4 separate regions of the Homo sapiens genome follow, and regions 2, 3 and 4 are each linked to region 1. The links are contacts of gene promoters, found by promoter capture Hi-C in human tissues and cell types (Jung and others, 2019). All regions are on one chromosome and are shown on one strand. The core of a region is centred on a gene start or on the middle of the fragment in contact, and the rest is flanking DNA. Distances in the headings are between cores, read along the strand shown.

Region 1 (3,003 bases), core at 483-2,982:
CCCATGGAAAAATGAAAACTCACAGAAAACAAACAAAAACAAAACAAGCCCTCTAAATGGAAACAACAACAACAACAAAACACCAACACCCCCCGCCCCCAGCCCGGGGTGAAATGTCAATTCCGGGAGGGCTTTTGATCTCCAGGCGCGGACAGGCCGCTCCTCCCAGGCGCTGCCTCCCGGCGCGGGCGAGGCGGGAGGGCGGGAAGCCTGGGCTGGGGCTGGGCTGCGGAGGGAAAGAGTCGAGCACTCGGAGATGGCCAAAAATCAAATCTCGGGGTAGGGACACGGGCCCGCAGGCTGCAGGGAGGAGGCGGCGCTGGGGAACTGCGCAGACCACTTGGTGGGGGGGCCGCCCGGGAATCCACAGCCACATTTCCGATTGTGGCGAAATCTGCTCAGTGGATATGTGATGTCCAGTTGCCGCCGGGGGCCCCCCTTTCCTCGAGCTCTAGGCTCTTCCCCCTAGGTTGCGACCCAGCCTCGTGACCACCCCCTCCAAAAAACAAACAACACTCTTGCTGAGGACGATTCACTCTCCAAAACTGCCATTGTCCGGCGGGCCAGGAGTCCTCCTACGGAGCGCTCCCCCGCCCTGGAGAACCTTTCCCCTGCGACCACCCCGCTGCAGGGCCCCACAGGCTTTCAGTGGCTAGGCCCAGCAGCTGAACTAACTCAAGGCTGGGGAGGGGAACAGGGAGGGGAGGCTTGAGTCTGGCCCGAAGAGAGAGGGCTGGACATGCCACACCTCTGCTCGGTCTCTGTGGATCTGATTTCCTCTCTGGAATCAAGTCCTGGGGCTCTGGGACTCCACAACGTCTCAGGGCTCGAGGGCAATGCGATTCCACTTATGGGCCGGGGTAAGGTGTCTGGAACTCCCGCCAATCTCCAGAAACTACTGAGATGTTCTGCTCTGCCCGGGTGCTCCAAAGCGGAAGCCCGGATTTCATCTCCAGTATTTCACAGCTTAACCTCCATGCTCTGGGCCAGAATGGAACTTGATGTGGGGAGGGGTTCTGGGACTAGAAGACTGGATGGGACCTGGGGGCTTTAGGGATCTGGCGCTGCCCTAGGGTCAGGGGCCCAGCAATAGTCAGGACCCCAACAAATTGGGGTGGGGGTTGGATGGCTGGGAACCCTGGGGTCGGGCGCCGCCCTAGGGGTGAATCGGAGTAAACCGGAACGTCGCCTCGGTGCCTGGCAACACTGCCAGCCTTTGCAACCCCTTTCAAAAGCACCTGCTTGGCCGAGCAGTTAATTTCTTCAAAAACAAAAACCCGGCCTGCGCTCGTCTAAGCAGCGGGGTTTGCACATGGAGATGTCACAGGCCCCGCGCACAGCGCAGAGGGCCGCGACCCCCAAGCGCATGTCTTAATAGAAGGTGCGGCTGGAAGACCCGGGCTCCCGGGCTCCGCTTCGGTCTGCCCCTTCCCGTAGGTGCGCTGGCTAGCGCCCGGCGCAGGCTGAAGCCTTCCTTCCCTCCCCCCAACCCCTATAAAAGTCTGGGGCGGCGCGGCAGCAGCACTGCTGCTCTCCCGGCTTCCCGCTCTACTCCGGCCGGGCCGGGTCCGCCACGTCTGGCGCGCTGAGCAGGCCCGGCCGCGCAGCGCCTACCCTTTCCTCGCTCCGGGCCGGCAGTGTGGGGCGGCGCGCTGGGGGCGCGGCGTGTCTGGGGACATCTTGTGATGTTGGCGAGAACAGGACATGATCTCACATGGCGAGAAGCTCTTTAGTTCCTTAATCATTTCACGGTGCCTTCGGACGCTTTTTTTCCACCTAAAACGTTTAGTTTCAGCTCAGTGATCAGCTACCCCAGCTCGGCGGGGGAGCGGAAGGCTTGAATTATTCCGACCTGTGAGCGGCCCCTGGCACCAAAAAAAAAAAAAAAAAAAAAAAAAAAAGAAAAAAAAAGGCACAAAAAAGTGGAAACTTTTCCCTGTCCATTCCATCAAGTCCTGAAAAATCAAAATGGATTTAGAGAAAAATTATCCGACTCCTCGGACCAGCAGGACAGGTAGGACCGCGATACGGGCTCCAGATGTGCAAACTCCGGGACACGGCCAGGCCTTGGTCCCCACGCAGGGTGACCCTGGAGGAGGAGGGGGCGCGCCGCATTTTCGTAGAGACTGTCTAACTGCGGCGTGTTTGTTATGTTTTTTCACCTATCTGTTCACACACTTCTGCATCAGTCCAAATATCTGTGAGTTTGTCTGTGTTTTTCTCTGTTTCTGAATGTTCACGCTGGCGTCCTTCCGGGGGTCTGCAAGTTAGGGCCTGTGTGTTTATATAAGGGACTCAGTGTGTTCATTACAGTATATGTATTTTTAAAAGATGTAAAAATATATGAGTTTGTGTCCAAAAGTTGTTTGCCTGTGTGTGTGTGTGTGTGTGTGTGTGTGTATCTTTATACTCGTGGGGTATTCGTGTGTGTTTATAAGTTAGTACTTGTGTATATTCTTTTGGGTATCCAAAATGTGTGTCTACTATGAGTGTTATTTATGTAATTCGGAAATATCTGAGTGTACATCCACTATTTAAAGGGTCTGCATTCACCTGTTATATCCCAAGTGATTTTTGGATGTGAGAAAGAAGTGGCTACACTGACCTTTCCATTTTTGGATGTCAACGGCTGTCCGATGCATACACGCCAATGTTCACATTGTGTCTCTAGGCAAACTCCTAGACGTGGGTCTGGGGCCTATGGAGATCCGTGGTGTTTAGCATGTGCATTGTAAGGCCCAGTGTCCATTCTATTGGGAGATAGGACCAGGAATGAAGGTGTGAATTCAGGGCATGCAGCCTCTTGGTGTGCAGTGAGCACTGTTCAGGCTACCATTTGTACAAACAGGTCTCCTGTGGCAGGCACAACCTTGCAGATGACAGCGGACACCTGTAGGGTTAGTTGTGACATTTCTAGGGACCCCCAGCCTACATTCACTTTCACCTAGACAAGCCTCTGACACTGGCGTGTGTATTTGTGTGTACACACAGACACACACACAC
Region 2 (2,700 bases), core at 7-2,506, 140 kb before region 1:
CTCACAATAACCTTTGAAATATAGAGGTTTATTTGCCAACCATTGTGAGTTTTCTTCTTTCCATTCTTCCTTCCTTTCCTCTCTTTCTACTTTCTCTTTTACCTTCTTTCCTTCCTTTTTACCTTCTCCTTTTTTCTTTCCTTTTCCTTTTTTTTTTTTTTTGGTGGGGGGTAGGGGGCGGCCAGTGGGGAAGCAATGGGTTTGAGAGGGGAGGTGGGGGTACAAATGGTATGTGACGCTGGGATGTGTTTTAAGTTACAAAGGCGAATAATGTTACTGTTGTATTCTTAACAATGAAGTGAACCTACCCTGATTTTCCACTAAGAGTGATAAATTTGGACTGACATATCCAAATTCTATCATGGGGTTCATAAAGCTAGCTAGAAATCATATACTCATCAGCATGGTGTTTTAATTACCAAGGCACCATTACTGGCTAGGTTTAGGGTTAGAACAGTTTTAGGTTTACAGAAAAATTGTGAAGATAGTACAACGAGTTCTCATGTGCACCACAGCCAGTTTCCCCTATAATAGTGACATCTTACATTAGTATGGTAAATTTGACAAAATTAATGAAACAATATTGATACCTTATTAACTGAAGCTCATACATGATTTCTTTAGTTTTTAATTTTTTTCTGTTCTAGAATTCTATCCAGGATACCACATTACACTTAGTTGTCATGTCTCCCTAGGCTCCTCTTGGCTGTGACAGTATCTCTGACTTTCATTGTTTTTAAGGAATACTGGGTTAGGTATTCTACAGAATGTCCCAAATTGGGATTTGTTTGATGTCTTTCTCATGGTTAGGCTGTGGTTATGGGTTTTGGGAAAAGAAAACCACAGCGGTAAACTGCCATTCTCATTATATCATATCAAGAGTATATCCTATCAATGTGACTGATCTTTCATGTCAGTCTTAATTGCCTGTCTTATTGTGTTCTCTCTTAGTCTCAGCCCTCCCCAAAACTGCATTTACCCCTTTCTGAACTTCATAATCTCCATTATGACATATTACTATTCTTCATTGTTGAAAGTGATAGTTTTTCACAGCTGCTCTCTGTAGGTATGGCTCAATGGGGCAGGAGGAATCAAAGAAACAACCCAGCTGTACTTTCCACACTGCACAAAGATTAGTCTTTGTGTCACTACTTACAGTGATTACTCTCAGTCTGTAGCTATTTCTGACCTAGCTCCATGCTTTTATTTTTTAATTTTATTTATTTATTTATTTATTGAGACTGAGTCTCACTCTGTCACCCAGGCTGGAATGCACTGGCGTGGTCTCAGCTCACTGCAAACTCCACCTCCCAGGTTCAAGCAATTCTCCTGTCTCAGCCTCTCAAGTAGCTGGGACTACAGGTGTGTGCCACCACACCCAGCTAAGTATTTTCAGTAGAGACGGGGTTTCACTGCGTTGGCCAGGCTCGTCTCAAACTCCTGACCTCGTGATCTGCCCACCCTGGCCTCCCAAAGTGCTGGGATTACAGGCGTAAGCCACCACACCCGGCCTAGATCCTTGCTTTTAAAGCCAGTACAAAAAGAAGCTCTCAACTTTCTGTTGTCCTGGCCCCATTTTACTCATATTTCCAGGGGTAGGACTGAGGCATCAGTAGTTTAAAAAAACAAACAAACAAACAAAAACACCAGTGTAAGACCTTATCTCTATATATTGACTGCTACAGTAAAGGCTGGTCTGTCTTCCCATTTACAGAATTCATAGCTATTACTCTTTGGGGTTTCCATTTCCGATATATCTTCAGTTATTCCCCTAATTTAGCCTTAGCTAAAATGAATCCTATATGATTTAAGCAGCAGGAACACTGCAATGCTGTTTAGACACCGGTAGATTAAGCATTGTCAGAAGCTGAGGGCACTCACTGACATTTAGAAGCATTACTAATTTTTAAAATATATACATTAAATGTATATATTTAATTCAGTTATGCATATATTTTAATATATGATGTATGCTTCCATATATTAAAATATAATTACATATTAATATATACCAAAATATATTGACATATATTATTGATTCCAACATGAAGACCACAAAAGTCTGGATATTAAAACACCACAAACAGTGATAAAATGTTCTTTTAAATGTGGGACTCATTTCTGTACTGAAGCAACAATCTATAGGGTGGCTGAGTTCCTAGGCTACCTTAATGAAAGCGTATTTAACAAATGAGGCTAGACTGGGCGCGGTGGCTCACGCCTGTAATCCCAGCACTTTGGGAGGCCGAGGCAGGCGGATCACGAGGTCAGGAGATCGAGACCATCCTGGCTAACACGGTGAAACCCCGTCTCTACTAAAAATACAAAAATTAGCCAGGCATGGTGGCAGGCGCCTGTAGTCCCAGCTACTCCTTGAGGCTGAGGCAGGAGAATGGCATGAACCCAGGAGGCGGCACTTGCAGTGAGCCAAGATCGAGCCACTGGACTCCAGCCTGGGTGACAGCAAGACTCCATCTCAAAAACAAAACAAAACAAACAAACAAACAAACAAACAAAAACAAATGAGGCTTAAGAAATATTTGTCAGAAGCATATGAAATTGCCATATTCAACCATTACACTAATTTCTTGTTGTTCAACCTCTTACATTTTTGATAAAAGACAAAAAACAGCCTTTACCACAACAGTATTTAAACAAAACAAAACTAAGAAATTATTTTAATTTATTTAATCTTAAATA
Region 3 (2,953 bases), core at 357-2,856, 150 kb after region 1:
ATGATTAATTTCATCTTGGCAAACGTTTTCTGAGTACCTACTGTGTGCCAGGCCAGTGCAAGGGAAACAGGAATGAGAGCAGTTCTTGATCTCTGGGGACTTCCAGTCTAGAAGCAGGAGAAGGATGGGTGCCCAATGCTGGGGGATTGTGAAGGCATCTGGTGCCAGAACGCCTCCGTTTGGATAAGGGTCCATTTGTGACTAGCTGTGGGAACTTGGGCAGGTGCCTAATCTCGCTGTGTTTTAGTTTCCACATCTGTAAAATGGGGATAACAATAGGGTTCACCTTACAGAGTTTTTGAGGATGAAATGAATCTATATTTACAAAGCAGAGTGAATATTGTTTAGAACACTGCTTAGTGTAGAGCCTTGTCTGGCATACAGTAAATTCTACAAAAATATTAGCTGTTATTGTTATTATTATCAGCCGTGCAACCTTGGGTACATCAACTGCTTGGGAGCCTTCATTTCCTCATTTGTAAAATGGGGATTATAACCGCAACCTTATGGGGTTCTTGTATTGAATGAGGTTAAGACATGGAAGTGCCTGGCCAGGGCCTGGCTTGTGGGAACTCCAAGGAGGCTGGAGCTCTGTGGGTTGACCAGTCACCAAGGGGGCCCAGGTTCAGGGTAAAGGATCATAGACCTCACTTCTCCATGAGAAGAGTAACAAAGAATTTGCAGACATGTTTTAATCCTGTTACAGAGAGTACCATTGTTACACTCCCAATAAATACCCTCTTTTTCCAATTATCAAAGAAAGCCCCATGCTCAGATCGTTGTATTACCTGCCAGAGGTCACACAGCGAGTAAGTGGTGGAGCTAAGATTTGAAGCCAGGCCTGTGTGACTCCAAACTCCACCCCTCCCTGCAAGGCTCAGGGGCCTAGATTTGGCTCTGGAGGCAACGGGGGAGCCTGTGTGAAAGGGAGAGCAGATGTGGGTGGCTTCATGCCCCCTCAAGCCTGCCGCCTGCAGAGCTGCCTGGAGGTCTCCTCCCTGGGGTCAGGTCTGCCCTCTGGATGCCAGGTCTTCCACCAGCGTCAGCCATAGCGTGCCTCTGCCCAGCCTGCCCTCTCCCCAGATGCAGCCTGAGACTTTATATCTTCCCTTCATGTCTTTGCCTGTTGAGCATTTCCCAGCCCCAGCCCTAGGCAATCACGAATCTACCTTTTGTCGGTAGATTTGCCTATCTTGGACATTTGTATGAATATATTCACACAATACATAGTCTTTTGTGACTGGCTTCTTTCACGTAGCATAGTCATTTCAAGTTCATTATGAATGTTGCTACTGTAGTATGTATTGGTATTTCACTCTGTTTTATTGCCAAATATTCCATTGTATGGACATACTACATTTTCGTTATGCATTCATCAATTGATGGATATCTGAGCTGTTTCCACTTTTTGGCTATCATGAATAATGCTGCCACCAACATTTGTGTACAAGTTTTTATGTGGACATACGTTCTTATTTCTCTGGGGTGTACACCTAGGAGTGGGAATTGCTGGGTCACGTGGTAACTCGATGTCTAAGAACTGCCAGACTTTTCCAAAGCAGCTGTACCATTTTACATTCCTACCAGCAGTGTTTGAGGGTTCCGATTTTCCCCATCTTTGCCAATGATTGTGACAATATGTCTTTTTGACTGTGACCTTCCCAGTGGGTATGAAGTGGTGTTTTATTGTGGTTTGGATTTGCATTTCCCTGAGAGCTAATGATGTTGAACATCTTTTCATGTGCTTGTTAGCCATTTCATTTATTCTTCTTTAGACAAATGCCTATTCAGTTGCTTTGCTCATTTTAAAATTGGATTATTTGTCTATTATTGAGCTGCAAGAGTTCTTTATATATTCTAGATACAAGTCCTTTATCAGACATATGATTTGCAAATATTTTCTCCCATTCTATGGGTCATTTTTTCACTTTCTTGGTAGTATCCTTTGAAGCACAAAAGCTTTTAATTTTGATGAAGTCCAGTGTATCTATTTTTTTGTTTGTGTCATATCCAATAAACTATTGCCGAATCCAGGGTCATGGAGATTTATGCCCATATTTCCTTCTAAGAATTTTGTACTTTTAACTCCTACATTTAGGTCTTTGATTCATTTTTGAGTTAATTTTTGTAGTGTGTGTGCATCTGGTTTCAAATCATAGTTAGAAAGTCTTTCTGCACCTGGATTAGAGAGGAATTCACCTGTATTTTCTTCTAGTACTTGTAGAGTTTTATTTTTTTACATTTATTTCTCAGTTCTATTTGTAGTTTATTCTTATATATGGTGGGAAGAGTTGATCTATTTTATCTTTTTTCCCAGATGGCTTTCCAGTTGTCCTAACACCATTTATAAAAAGTCCATATTTGCCCCAGTGATTCGAGATCCTACCTTCATCGTATGCTAGATTTCCATATAATCTATGCATTGGATTATTGGGTCCATAATCCAATATGGATTGGATCTTTTGAGCCTTTGTTTAAATTTTTCATTCTATTCCATTGGTTTTTTCTTCAGGTGCTGGTATCACAATATTAATTATAAAGACTTCATAGAATGTTTTAGCATCTGGGAGGGCTAGTCCCCTCGAGGGGAAACATTTTTAATAATCCTACAATAATAGCATTTAAGTAGAAATCATGAGATCTGAATTGAAGTCCCTGTTCTACCGCTTACTCTGTGACTTTGGGCCAGTCAAAACTCATCCCTGAGCCTCAGTTTCCTCATGTATACAACAGGGGCAGATCCCTGTTCTTCCCCTTCCTCTCAGGATTGCAAAGAGTGAGTTATTTCAAACCAAATGTGTCTCTTCTGGAGGAGTGGCCTTTGTGTTGAGTTTCACTGTTCTGCCTGGACTCCTTGCTGATAGTAAGCAAAGCCAAGTCTTGGTTATTCTCCCTGGTAAGAGAAGGCCACGCATGAGTTAGAAAAGATGTACTTACGTGCCATTAATAGGAG
Region 4 (2,734 bases), core at 209-2,708, 170 kb after region 1:
AATGGTTTGCTAGCAAGTGGTTCAGTCTAGATGACAAGGGAAGGATTTTGCCAATTTGGAGTGTGACTCTTAGAAACACTGTGTTACAGCCCAGAAATTGCTTTCATTGTGTGATGCAAAAGAAGGGTGTGGCACGAGCAGGTCTAAGCGGGGACACCAGGTGTATACCGAAGAGTCTTGGGTTGAAGCAGTTTCCCATAGCCCCTACAACTTTGCACTGGACCTTTGTGAATGAATAGCTTTTCCATGGGCACTGCGGGTGTGGGGTTCCTGGGTAGAGAAGAACTCCCCAGGAACGAGCCAGACACATTTGGAAAAACAAATGCAAAGAAATTGGAATCTAGCCTTGGGAAGCAGGAGACCAACCAAGGCCCCCCCCCCACCACCCCATCCAGGACATTTTGTAGGCTGTAGAGCTGGCCACTGGGGGCAGCGGCAAAGACATTGATTCAACAGAGGCCCTAGCCGAGGGCCTTGCCTTTGGCTTTGGAGAAATCTGCTCTGCAGGAGAAGCTTTGAAGGCTGTTAGCCCTGTGTAGATTGGGCTGTGCCTGTGTGGAGCGTGTTGTGTGTTCAACGGAGAGGCCGTTGTGTGTTCTGTAGCTGCTTTTCCGTCCATCACTGATGGACAGGGCTGGACTCAACCTTAGAAATCAACCCAGGGCTGTGCAGATGAGGATGAGGAAAGGACTTGTTCAAAGTCATATGGCAAGTCAGAGGGGGAGCCAGGTGGCCCTCTTTCTGCCCTATTGTCCCCACCCCCCTCAGTTCCTCACCGAAGCAATAAAAAAGAAGCTATTTTGTCTCCTGTCCTTGTGCAGAACTGGTATAAAAAGGACGGTTCCTGGATGCCCTGGCTTCTACAGCAACACAAATCGAGACCCCCACCTTCACCCCAACTTTTGTTGTGCTCTTCCTGAATGCAGATCCTCTCCCAGGCCCTGGGACCTGGCCAGCTACAAAAACATCTTCTCTTAAGTCTCAGGCTTCTGTGCCTCAGTGGATCCAGGCAACGGTGGGCTCCCCAGGTCTGGCCGAGGTTGGTCTGAGACCTGCAGGTACGCCGGGGCACAGCTCCCCTACCCAGAGTCAGGTAGCCAGACACAAAGAAATGATTGTTTTCTGTTCCTGGGTTCAGTTTCCCTCTGGAAGCTGTGACCCAGTTAGAAAGTCAGACAGATAGAAAAATCTGACCACGACCCCAACTGAGGTTCTGAAGTCTTGGCTTCTATTTAGGCCTCTGCCTCGAACGCTCCCTGGTGAGGCCCGGCCCGCCCGCGCTTCTTCAGCCACCAGGAGCAGACCTTCCTAGCCGCTGGTTTCCTCCATAATTGATGATTTATTCCCCACTGACTTCCAAAATGGATTTGAGGCACCTTCCTGACCTTTCAATAACATCAGCCCCAACCTGAAATCCCTGTCATAAAACAGGAGGACTGCCAGTGGTTCCCGGTGGGGCAGGAGTGGATGCAGATCCACCCCACCTGCCCGAGGATGGGCAGACTTGCTTTTCACAGCGTGGCACCACTGAGCCGTCCTTTGTGCCCAGCCCTGCTCTGGAGCGACCCACGCTTCACTGCTAGGAGGTGGGAGCTCACTTTTTTGGAAACAGCTCCTGTCTGGATGCATACCAGAGCAGGCTTCCAAAAACATACTTTTAATCAAAAGAAGACTACCAGAAAAACTGGGGCAAATTGTGATTTTGACAGTGGACAATTATAAATACTGGGAGGGGTTACTAGTTGGCAAATAAACTCCGCTAGTGAAGTCTTGGATTAATTATACCACCAGTGAGCTGGCCGTGTGGGGTCTCCTGATTATCTTCATTTGCGGAATATGTTCTGGTCTTCCTCCATTTCTTCCTTCTCTCCCTCTCTCCCCAGCCTCTCCCGCTGCCTTCCCTCCTCTCTTCCCTTCCTCCCTTCTTCCTTGACTCACTTATTCATTCATCAGACAATCCCTGAGTCCCTCCTGGGTGCTGGGCCTAGTTCAAAGAATGGGCACAGAAATGACTGAATGAATTTCTCAAGACCTAGGAGAATCGCCCATGCTACCTGCTCAGATGGAAAGAAACCAGCTTGCATGTGGAGGTTCTGCAGGATTGCTAGGCCCAGGGGCTAGGCAGAGACTACTGGGGGACAAGAGGGCAAGGTGTGGGGAGCTCAGAAGCTGAGGGTTGCTGACTCGATGGATGCTCTGGCCGGGCTCACCCTGGGCCTCCCTGGGAGAACTGAGGGAAGCACCTGGAAATCTTGGTCTCTGAAGTGGGTGCCTGGCCTGTGTTTCCAAATAGGGGGCTCTGTATTTAGGAGTGGGGAGGAGCAGGGAGCTGCCCTGAATGGCTGCCTGCTTTGGAAATTTCTATGCATTTGTAATAACAAAATTACCATAATTTGCTCGTTAACGCAGCTAGATCAGTCAAGCATTGTTCCTTCGCGGGCGGGAAGGCCGCGGTGCCTCTCTCTGCACACTCTCCACACCCCAGCCCGCCTGCCAGCCCGTTAGAGTGCTGGAAATTAGCATGCAAATGGTCCTAATTCGGTGGGCGAGCTGTCAGGCAGCGCCTCTCTGGCCTCGTCTCTGTGAAGGCCCTGACAGCCCGGCTCCGGCGCCGGCCCACCCTCCTCACTCCAGCCAGGAGGGGCTCCGAGGGGCACCTCTAGACTGACAGCTTGGCGGCCTCCCTCCCTCCGTCAGCGCCATCAGCCCTGGCGGCAGGCTCCCAGGGGAGCAG

What was found. The method cuts DNA at HindIII sites, captures the fragments that hold promoters and counts their contacts. A contact is called where the count stands out against the background at its distance.
Region 2: a contact is called between a fragment that was not itself captured here and the fragment with the promoter of PAX5 in region 1, in 1 of the 25 tissues and cell types used here (lymphoblastoid cells).
Region 3: a fragment that was not itself captured here is called in contact with the fragment with the promoter of PAX5 in region 1 in 1 of the 25 tissues and cell types used here (liver).
Region 4: a contact is called between a fragment that was not itself captured here and the fragment with the promoter of PAX5 in region 1, in 3 of the 25 tissues and cell types used here (IMR-90 fibroblasts, lymphoblastoid cells and spleen).

Annotation. Positions count from the first base shown.
Region 1 is chr9:37,032,997-37,035,999 of GRCh38, reverse strand. PAX5 (paired box 5) reads left to right here and starts at 1,732. Exons shown (of 10, transcript NM_016734.3): 1 at 1,732-2,014. The coding sequence starts at 1,969. RefSeq lists silencers at 160-319, 1,400-1,579, 1,846-1,966, an enhancer at 1,020-1,069 and a promoter at 1,148-1,586. The HindIII fragment of the contact is 13,727 bases long and covers 1-3,003 here.
Region 2 is chr9:37,175,872-37,178,571 of GRCh38, reverse strand. The region is part of intron 2 of ZCCHC7 (zinc finger CCHC-type containing 7); the gene reads right to left. All of the region lies in intron 1 of LOC105376033 (a long non-coding RNA gene), which reads right to left. Among named protein-coding and RNA genes, the nearest start is that of ZCCHC7, 57 kb to the right of the region's middle. The HindIII fragment of the contact is 9,777 bases long and covers 1-2,700 here.
Region 3 is chr9:36,886,804-36,889,756 of GRCh38, reverse strand. The region is part of intron 7 of PAX5 (paired box 5); the gene reads left to right. Among named protein-coding and RNA genes, the nearest start is that of MIR4476, 5.3 kb to the left of the region's middle. The HindIII fragment of the contact is 3,977 bases long and covers 1-2,953 here.
Region 4 is chr9:36,864,708-36,867,441 of GRCh38, reverse strand. All of the region lies in intron 8 of PAX5 (paired box 5), which reads left to right. Among named protein-coding and RNA genes, the nearest start is that of MIR4540, 1.8 kb to the right of the region's middle. RefSeq lists an enhancer at 2,546-2,655. The HindIII fragment of the contact is 4,420 bases long and covers 1-2,734 here.